Regions from separate parts of the Homo sapiens genome. Here region 2 is linked to region 1. The links are contacts of gene promoters, found by promoter capture Hi-C in blood cells and fetal thymus (Javierre and others, 2016). All regions are on one chromosome and are shown on one strand. Each heading gives the region's core, a stretch centred on a gene start or on the middle of the fragment in contact. The rest is flanking DNA. Distances are from core to core; before and after follow the strand shown.

The links. The method cuts DNA at HindIII sites, captures the fragments that hold promoters and counts their contacts. A CHiCAGO score of 5 or more calls a contact.
Region 2: a fragment that was not itself captured here is called in contact with the fragment with the promoter of NAA11 in region 1 in 1 of 17 cell types (megakaryocytes); the score reaches 6.3 in megakaryocytes.

The regions. Positions count from the first base shown.
Region 1 is chr4:79,323,616-79,329,071 of GRCh38, forward strand. NAA11 (N-alpha-acetyltransferase 11, NatA catalytic subunit) reads right to left here and starts at 2,446. Exons shown (of 2, transcript NM_032693.3): 1 at 1,561-2,446. The coding sequence starts at 2,262. The coding sequence ends at 1,573. The HindIII fragment of the contact is 18,990 bases long and covers 1-5,456 here.
Region 2 is chr4:79,572,990-79,578,445 of GRCh38, forward strand. It overlaps LINC00989 (long intergenic non-protein coding RNA 989), which reads left to right. Exons shown (of 4, transcript NR_038826.1): 4 at 2,152-3,471. All of the region lies in intron 1 of LOC107986294 (a long non-coding RNA gene), which reads left to right. Among named protein-coding and RNA genes, the nearest start is that of LINC00989, 83 kb to the left of the region's middle. The HindIII fragment of the contact is 249 bases long and covers 1,931-2,179 here.

The DNA of each region.
Region 1 (5,456 bases), core at 1,196-3,695:
CAAGACCATCCTGGCTAACACAGTGAAACCCCGTCTCTACTAAAAATACAAAAAAATTAGCCAGGCGTGGTGGCAGGCGCCTGTAGTCCCAGCTACTCGGGAGGCTGAGGCAGCGGAATGGCGTGAACCCGGGAGGCGGAGCTTGCAGTGAGCCAAGACAGTGCCACGGCACTCCAGCCTCGGCGACAGAGCTAGACTCCATCTCAAAAAAAGAAAAAAAGATACAAAAATACAAAAATTAGCCAGGCGAGGTGGCGGGCGCCTGTAGTCCCAGTTACTTGGGAGGCTGAGGCAGGAGAATAGCTTGAACCCAGGACGTGGAGGTTGCAGTGAGCCGAGATCGCGCCACTGCACTCCAGCCTGGGCGACAGAACGAGACTCTGTCTCAAAAAAAAAAAAAAAAAGTACAGTAATTGTTTTGGCTCTTTAACTTTTCATGCTAATTTTCACACATTCGAAAGAGTAAATGGCATAAGGAACCCCCTAAGTACCCATTTCCCAACCCAACAATTATCATTGCCATTCTTATTTCATTTTCCCTCTTTCAATCTTTTTCTTCTTTTTTTGCTGGATTATTTTAAAGGAAATCCTAGGCATCCTATTATTTCAGCTATAATTATTTCTGTATGTATCTTTAACAGATAAGGACTTTCTAAACATAATACAATACCATTTAGCTCCTCTAATAAAATTATTAGTAATTCCTTAATATAGTCCCCGTTCAAATTTTGCCTGATTATCTCAAAAATGTCTTATACATGGTTTGTTTGAATCAGTATCCAAACAATGTCCATAGCAGTTGAGTTTAATGTATCTGTAAAGTTTAACAGAAAATGCTTCATCTTTTTTTGTGTGTGTGCCATTTATTTGTTGAAGAAACCAGGTCATTTGTTTTGTAAAAACCTCTCATTCTGGATTTGGCTGTTTGCATCATGGTATAGTTTAACAAGTCCCTCTATTTTCTGTAAAATGGTAGTCAGATCTCATAATTTTCTTTTGGAAAGAATATTTCATAGGTAGTACTGTGCACTTCCTGTTGCATAAGGAGACACATATTTGTCTCCACGTTTAGTGAAGACTGACTACACTGACTTCAAGTGTTGTCAGTCTGATCCATCATTACAAAGTGCTCCAACTTTTACCTAATGCTATTAGCCATTGATGACTCTTGGCTGGGTCCATTATTTCATCAAGAGTTGGAAAATGATGATTTTATATTTCTATCATTATTACTAACTGGAATTCCATAAAGAAAAAAATGCCTTTCATCAACTACGTGGTTACCCTGAAATACAACTCATGCCCAAAAAGCAGGATAAATGCTTGTTTCTTCATTGAAATTAATCTACTTTCAGCATGAGCTGGTATCCTATTTAACTTCCAATAGCGTGTAATGAGTCTCCCTCAACTCACTCTAACTTCTCCCTAAGGTCACCAGGTGGTTTTTACCGTAAAATCTCGCAGGGCCAGAATGGGGTAAGACAGGATGGAATTGGGCAGGCCAAGGCAGGATGCAGGGATTTAGGAGAAGGGGGTACTGGGTCAGGGAAGACAGAATACCTTAAGCATGCTCTAGGAGGTGGAATCCGAGCTTTCTGAGCTGTCCTGGACGTTGGTGCTCTCCACAGACTCCTTAGGTTCTTTGCTGTCACTGCCACTTTCTTCGGTAGCCGGGTTCTTTTGCTGACAGGCCTCTTCAGAATCAGAAAGTGTGCTGCCCTGGGTCTCCTGGTTCTCCCTGGAGCCCAGGACCACATACCCGCCCTTCTTCAGGTCCATTTGTCGTCTCAGCTCATCTGCCATCTGCGAGAGATCCCGCTTCATAGCATAAGCATCTTCCCCATCTGCATAGTATTTAGGTTCCACCTCACTAATCTGAAAGTTGAGGGTGTTAGAATAAAGGTGCAAGGCTGGCCGGTTACTCTTCCTGACGTGCAGAGACACGTATTTGGCGTTAAAGTTCTCTATCATGGCCCTGGAGGCCTGGTCCATCAGCTTCTGGGCCAGGCCGAGGCGCCGGTGTGAACGCTTCACGGCCAGTGAGGTGATATGGCCATGCGGGACATCATCTGGTTCCTCCTCCATTTTGGCCAGAACATAGCCCACAATCTTCCCGTCCTCATCCTCAGCGATGTAAGAAAGCTGGGGCCAGGAAAGGCCATGATATAAATAGTATTTCATCTGGTAGTTCTCAGGAAGGCAAAGGAGGTTGCAGTGTTGCATATTCATCAGGTCGTCTGGCTGAGCGTTGCGGATGTTCATAATGGCAGAGGGTAGGGAACCGGTTGGACTGCAGTGAACCCAGAAGAGGCTGTCGCCGACCTTAAGGGGCACTGTTTGCCTCAGGAATCGAGTCCAGGGGGCTAACACCACCGGGCTGAATCGTGTGGAGGGCGGATGGCGGGAAGGCGGAAGGAGCAGGAGATGGAAAAGATGGTGCCAAACTGCGGCTTTCAGAAGTGCGTCACTGATCCCAGCCAATGAGGTTTCGCTTCATTGTGCGTGTGCGTGCGCAGGGGTTAGGGGGTGGGGAGAGAGGAGTTCATTGTGGTCGCCTTTGTTTTAAATAACGCGATCCATTGCAATTATTATTTTTGTTTCAGTTTTAACTTTTTGATTTGGGTACATCTGAATAAATTTTCACAAACTGGAGAAACCCATATAACAGGAACTTAGAGAAAATAAAGAACATTGTATCCCAGAACCCCCCCTCCTGTCCCCTTCCAGTACCTGCTTCCAACATCCCAAGAATAACGATTACCTAGACTTCCGACAGACTTTATATAAATGGAATCATAGTGCATGCATTATTTTTGTGTCAGGTTTTTTCAGTCACTCTTTGTAAGTTTCAGCCACCTCGTGTATAGCTGAGGGTTCTTTATATTCTTCCTTGTTTGATATTCTATTGCCTAAATATGTCACAATTTTTTTTATCAATTCTACTGTTACTGGCCATTTTGTCATTTTCAGTTTGGGAATAGTACCCCTAGGGTAGCTGAACATTCTAGACTTGTCTTTAGTTGGAACAAATGCATATTTATCTAGGATTAGAATTATTGGGTCATTGAATATAATGATGTTCAACTTTTATAAATACTGCCACTTTTTCAGAGTGGTTGCTCCACCTTCTCAACAGCATTTGCTATTTCCCCATTGTTTTTATTTTAGCCATTCTTTTGTAGGGGTAGAAGTATTACACTGTGGTTGTATTTGCATTGCACTGATGAGTAGTAAAGTTGAGCACTTTATATGCTTATTAGCCATACTGTGTTCTCTTTTGTAAATGGCTGCTCAGATTTTTTTGCTCATTTTTCTACTTGTGTGTCTTTTTCACATTAATTTTTGAGTTTTATCAAAAATATATTCTGGGTATAAGTCCTTTGTCAGATATATTTGTAATGAATATCATTCTTGTCTATTGATTGATATTTCCCTTTCTTAATGGTGATTTTTGACACCAAGCATGAATTTTAATATAGTTCAATTTTTCCAGTTTTAAAATTTGGTGGTTAATGCTTTTTGTGTTCTGTTTAATAAATCGTTGCATACTCCATGGTGACTGAAGGCATTCTTTTATATTTTCTTCTAAGATTGTTAGTTTTACATTTTATATTTAGATCTGCAATTGACTGAAATTTAGTTTTGTGTATGCTGTAAGGTATCAGTGGACCCAATATTCTTTTCCTGTGTGGATGTACAATTCATATAGCACCATTTACACCATTTTGTGAAAAAAGATTATTATCCTTTCTTCATATTACTGCATTGTTACCTTTGTCATAAATCCTAAGTTTTATTTGTAGATGCATTTAAAAATTTTAATGTCATCTTAGCTGGGTGTGGTTATTCATGCCTGTAGTCTCAGCTACTTGGGAGGCTGAGGCAGGAGGATCACTTGAGGCCAGGAGTTTAAGGCTGTAGTGAACTATGATTGCATGACTGCACCCCAGCCTGGGTGACAGAACAAGAAGAAGAATAAGTAAATAATCATATGCCATCTCGATAAAGCAAGATTTGGGGTATTTAATAGTGCAAGGAAGTCACATTTTATTAGCACTACTTGCACAAATGGAATTATCTGTGTGTCTCGTACAGTCTTTCTTCCCAGTTTCCTAGCAGACCTCAGAACTCAAGTACCAAAATGAATTATGTTGTAATTAGCCAGGTCATGGATACCCTCTTAACTCATCTAGAATATGTGTGCAGCTTTCTTTCCAATGAGGGTACGCACTCCTTTAATAGCTAGAGTAACCTAGAGCCATGTGATCTGTGAAACATAGCTTGAATAGCCACTATTTTTGTTGTATTTTGACAATTGGCAGTATCTATTAATATATTTTTAAGATTTAACGTAAGCATTTTAGCTCCCTGATTTTTTGATAGGCTGTATACATTGGAAAAGTTATTCACCAGTATTATTTCCGTTCAGAAATTTCTTTCATGTTGTGCCTGACACCATGGATGGGGATCTATAATTTGTAGTGATGTAGCTCTAAAAGCATGATCCAGAAGAGTCATTTTGTTGATTCTTCTGTAGTGGGTTCTTCTTTTAAAAAGCATAGACTATTGAAACTTGAGTGCACTGTATTCTTTGACAGGGTTAATTTAAATGCAGCCAGGTTCATTACAGATACTATATCCTTCAACATAGAATAGTGCTGACTTAATGCTCAAGAGTTGGGCAGTATACTTGACTTATTCCAGAGTAGGCATGGTACCAAAACCAACAGTAATAAGCATGGTTTTTAATATACAATAATGTGATCTTTATTCATATAAAATCGTAGAAGGAATATGATGACAACTCCACTGTCATGGAAGAATGGTCTACCAGTTGCAATGACCACAGTAGCTAAGACAAAAAATGCAAAAACTGGTTATATTCTGATAGGCTGTCTTCTTTTTTGACAGAGAAGTTGCTATCATATATCCTCAGCATTTGCATATTCATTTCAGCTGCAGTGGAAAGCATGGATCCAAAACTAAAACTCTGACCCTTAAGGTGGTGTTGGTAGTAAGTAGTACTTAATTTGGCCCCTCCTACTGAGGTCAAGTATAAATGTTCTCTCATGAATTACAATGTGCCTCTAATTTCTGGACTATCGATCTAGCATGTCTTGTCAAGTTTTGTATGTGGTATGTTTTTATCATAAGTAAAGGGCATTGGCAATCTTCATTAATATTTTGCAAAAATTTAGCAAAAAGTCATCTAATACATAAATGTTTTGTAAATGAGAGCTCCTGGAGTTCTAGTCAGGTATTATGTCATATCTATAATATTTCATGTGGAAAAAGCTCCCATCTTCCTAACTGGCTTTATATCTCATGCCTATAGGATCTAAGGGCAAGACATATGATTATTTGAGCCTGGGTTCTGCACAAATCTTAGTCAAGTTATTTTTTAACCTTATGTTTCTACATCTTATCTGTCTTTTGTATGAATTCTACATACCACT
Region 2 (5,456 bases), core at 805-3,304, 250 kb after region 1:
TGTTGTTATAACTTTGAAATGTTGGCCTGAGCTCTGATTTATAGCTGATACTGTTCCCCAGCTGCACACAGCTGATCTGTCTATGGCCTTCTGGTCCTTCCTTGGATCCCTATGTCCATCCTCCATTCTATGGCCCAGGGTTTACTCAGCACCCTGAACCCTAGAAGTTCACTTATAATTACTGGTTGGCTGTAGCCTCCTCATACTGGCCTGGGCTATACACATGTCTTTCCAGCTCTGAGTTTAATGACCTCACATTGGTGGCTTGGAATCAGCCAGGGCAAAAGTCTTTACAGCATGGAAACCAGCAAATGCCTTCTCCCCATCCCTCGCCCCATCACTTTGGCAATCTGGTTACTCACACAACACTGCCTAGGATCTACTACCATTCATATCCCAGGATAGGCATACCCCGAACATGGAGGTTTTCATGTGTTTTTACTGTATGTCCCCATATGGCATTATAATGTTAACATTCATGGGTCTAAGCCCTTCCTGGACACCAAAGAAGAACAAAAAAATGGCAGAATCTCAGCAATACAGCAGCAGTGGCAAAATATGATATGTGCTTTCCCTTACAATTCTGCATTTATTGCAAACATTACTAATCACTCATGACATGACAGAGCCTGGCCCCAGACCCAGAATCCTCATCAACATAGCACTCTAAAGTCTCGACAGCCACTGCCAACCACTCAGATTTGGTACATGAGATGAAATTATTTACTGTCCCTCTTAGAATCAGAAATTCTCATTTCTCCCTAGGATATTCCCACTCTGTATTATTTATAACACTTCCCTAAGTTATAGAAAGATTTCTAAAAATGATGACCATGAAAGAAAACTTGTTGTCCCCAAAATTTAAATATTTAGAGCATAAGATCCATCCGCTATTCTGCCTGATAAAATCAGTTATGCAATACTCTACAAAGTACTTCGGCATTTGTAATTTTCCTAAGGACTCCATGCTCATGTATTGATATTCATCCATAATTAAATATATATGTTTGATGTCAATATTCCTTTGTTAGTCAGTGGAAATATATGAGTTCTCTGTTCATTGAAACCAGCTCAATGGAAATATTCTTTGACTTGGTGATTAAAAGAAAGGAAATTTGTCTTGCTACTGATGTCAAAATTGTATCATTAAAACATTTTCTGAATATAGAACAGAGTAAGAAAAAGTTTAAAATGTTACTTATTATTTTTTCATCTTCCTCTTTTCTACCTCAAGCTCAAATTTTTAGAAACAATTCCCTTAATTTGTTCTAGTTTCAAAAAGAGAATTGCAGGGATATATGGAGATACATTTATAGAGTTTGAGTAGTTTAGAGGTATGTTTAAAGGGGAGCATTAATCTATCAATACAGTGAAAAAGCATCTATAAGTGATGAGATTGTATGGTCTATATCTGATATAAATAAGCTCACTTAATATCTACATATATAGTGAAGACTACTCATAATCTCAAGAGATTACTATCCAGACATGTGAAAATTGTATATCCACTTGCAAAATTCCCAAATAACATGAAGAATGCATAAATGCAAATTGAGAGGTTTACAACAATAGCTGTCAGAGGAAAACCTGAGCTAATTGGTGAAAGGTGTTAGAGGCAAGGTTCTGAAGCATGAATGAGAATTGGATGAATGAGAAATAAAATAGAGGGAATGTGAGAAGGTCTGCATGAGCAAAGGCTCCAAAGAAGGATGGTGTAAATCTTATTTAATGGAAAAGCACATCAGAATAGGGGCATTTGCAATGAGGGTAGTGGTCATAAAGAGTAGGTGACTTTGAATATCAAAATAAAGAATTGATTTTTATTTAGAATTGTGTATCGTTTCAGTCTATGAGGCCATTATATTTTTATCTCATGTTTTATAGGCAGAAGTATCCTAATCTTTATATGAACCCTTGCAGAGCAAGGGTAAGCTTCTTATCTAATGTTACAGGAGCCGTGAAACAAGCACAGGATTAAGACTTAGAAAGCGTGGATTTGAATTCTGGGGCTGTCGCTTACTAATGGATGATTTTTGCATGTTGCTTAACCTCTCTGAATCTTAGTTTCTTTATGAACATCATAGTACATAGCTGTTGAGATTGGAGAGCCGAGATAGTTAGGATTAATCATGCTTCTTTCTTCCACTCCAGTTTTGAAACCAATGGAGAGATCAACACAAGCTTTGGAGAGGAGATCAAAATATCTGCTTCACTGGAAGGAGTTTTGGATTGCTCAACAAGGTTCAGATCTGTGGCATAATCAGGCTTCCTAATCCTGAACCAAAGTTGTTGTTGTATCTCGTAGTTGTCACCTGAGAGCTGACTGACCTGTTTCAAGCATATGTGAGATGCCTTCTGGAAATGCCCGGAAGCATATAGCTAATGGGATGAGGCATTTCAAGGTTGAACTTCAGCAAGAGCAAGTGGGATAAAGGGCAAAAAGCAGCACATTCCTTTCAAAATGTCCCCATTTTAAACTGCAGGCTAGAGTAGACAATGGAAATATATGACATATAAAGAAACTGGTGAGATTATTAAGCAGAGGGCCTTCTGGGGAGCATTAAAGAGTGAGCAAGAAAAATTTCTCAGACATGGTGATTCTAGAATTGAAAAATCATAGACTCTTTCTCTTCTCTCTCCTTTGAGAGTTTCCAGATGAATTCTTGGATCTGGCTACTGAGCAAATATATGAATAATAACCTAGGATCAGCTGGGTATAAGAGGTTTCCACCAGAAGTCCATGAAAACCAATGTTTTTAAGCATCTATTGGGCAACTACCATAAACAATCAGCAAGATGTTTAAACAGTTGATTCTGCCGGCGGCCCAACCAGTTTTTAACTGTATCACGAAAACTGGCCTGGGGGTACAGTCTGAGATTATTCCAGCCCTGCTTTTACACCGCCAGAAATTCCCTTTCTGTTACAAATTTCTACCCCAGAGAGGTTTGCATATTCTTGGCATTTTCACTGTGCATCAGTGAATCAGCTAGCCTACGGGCCAAGGAGAGGGGAAAAAAATCCCAAATAAAACTCAACCCAGTTAGGATGTCTTCATCTATTTTTCAGTGGGAAAAAATACAGCTGGACTCAGTGACTTCAGTCAAAAGCAAACATTACTAGTTGCTTCATTTTTCTAATTTTTATTTTTGACTCTCAAGTTTTGGAGGGCATAATAAAGACATAGCCTCAGCAAAGTCACTTAGAAGATTGAGTTCGTTATTTTGCAAAGCTTGGGTAGTGACACTTCTGCAAAATGCACAAGCACATGAGCAGAGAGATGTGTGAATTCAGGAAAGCAGCCAAATGCACATCAGAGCTGAGGAATGTCACAGCGAAATGAAGAAAACTTGTAAACACCTATCTGTATTTTTAGGTAGAGAATGTTCTAACATATTGCCAATGGGTGCTGCCTGTGTGTTCCTTCCCCTAAGCTTTAAACTCAACTGATATTAAAGGTGATTTGAAAACAATGAAAATTGACAGCTTTATTAATCTAGATGGTGTGTGTGAGAGAGAGACAGAGTGTGTGTGTGTGTGTGCGCGAACACGCACATGATGTGTGACTGCTGCATGTATAGACTGTGCATTTTTACTGTGGGCCTTGCACAGACGAGGGAGCCCTCTACTGATTGGAAATTGTACTAGATGTAAACTATAGAGGGATGCTTTCAGTGCGTTGCTCATGTATCCTCCAAAATGCAGACATTTTGCTTATTTATTTTTCAAATTATGACAGCAGATGCTTTATTTTCGGAAAGGAACTAGAGATGTCAGTCATCATGTGCATACAAGTATATGTCATTCCTTCTATTTAAGGTAAAATTCTTTGATTAAAAATATCTACACTCAGTCTTCAACCTTTTAATATAAAGATGATTGTAACACAATTAAACCACAAATGTCTACATGACTGTGATGAGAATGTGTGACAGAGATCATAACCGCGTTTATCTATTATCATGGTTTATCACACACTATTTTTTCCCTTAAGCGTGTATTTCTTATTTTATACTTTTTTTTTCTCAGAGCATAAAGACAGTTTTAGGGGTGACAATTTGAACTCATTCATGTGGACAGGTTTGTATGTGCTATATTTTCATATGCATAGTTAAATCATATTATTAAGTCCTGTGTACAGACAAGATTAATATTTAGTTGCTTTTGAGTTTAGATACCTGATTTTTAACCTCATGTCTTTATAAAATAATTATAGTTCAACTTTTCATTAATTTAAATCAATGAATAAAAGTAAAATATGGCTGGGTGCACTGGCTCACACATATAATCCTAGCACTTTGGGAGGCTGAGGCAGGAAGATCGCTTGAGTCCAGGAGTCCAAGACCAGCTTGGGCAACATGCCAAAATCCCAGCTCTACAAAAAATACACCCAGGTGTGGTGGTGCATGCCTGTAGTCTCAGCTACTTGGGGGGTGGAGGGGGGAGGATGGTTTTAGCCCAGGAGGTGGAGGTTGCAGTGAGCCGAGATCACACCATTGCACTGCAGCCTGGGCGACAGAGTGAGATCCTATCTCAATAAATAAATAAATAGAAATATTGTTCGCTTATTTTCAACATGACTGGCCTAATCCTATTATGGGATAGTCTCTCTTACCCTAAACGAGTTTTTTAATAGATTGTTTATTATTAGAATGCCAATTATTCCAATTTTTAACAAAGAATTAACATTTTTCTTGGAAGTTAGCTTAAACGTTTATTAGTTTTATATATAAATTTTACAAGAGAGCCTTTATTAAATCAAATTTTTTTAGAATTAAACTCAGTTTGAGTCTCATTCTGTACATAACTTTAACCCTAACCGTAGTTGAAGGCACTGTGTGTTGTTAAACAGCTACACCTGGAATTAACATGGCAGCATAGCTGACTGGGACATGACAGTGACACAGCTTTAACATCTGCCATCTTTTGACCACCAGCATTAATTTTGTTTCTACATCCAATGTCCTCATCCCTCACCAATCTGTCACTCTTTCTGTGGTTCCAACATTACAAAATAGCCATTGCCTTTATTTCATTGAGGATAAAACACATAATGTCAACCTAGGATGATCAATTTACTCTGCCATTAACAGCCACCATTTATGAAATGCCTACTGTGTGCCAATCCCTTTTCAAAAAAATGACCCAAACCTTAGAAATCTGCATGGGAAATCTCACTATTCCAGTTTGTCGGTTGGTATTCTTTTTGTTTGCAAATGACAAATTGTACTCAAACAAAGTTAAGCAGAAGAAGGGGACTGTATTACAAAGACACTGGAGTATCTCATATAATCCCAAAGGTCAGGTATTGCTTTCTCAAATGACATGTCCTAATAGCTTCGCCGAGGTTTCATTTATTTCTTACTATGAGTTCACTGAAAGTTAGGTGTGGATAAAAGTATCAGTCATTATTTCTGAGTATTAAACTACAATGATTTTTGGATATGGCTAATTTCTA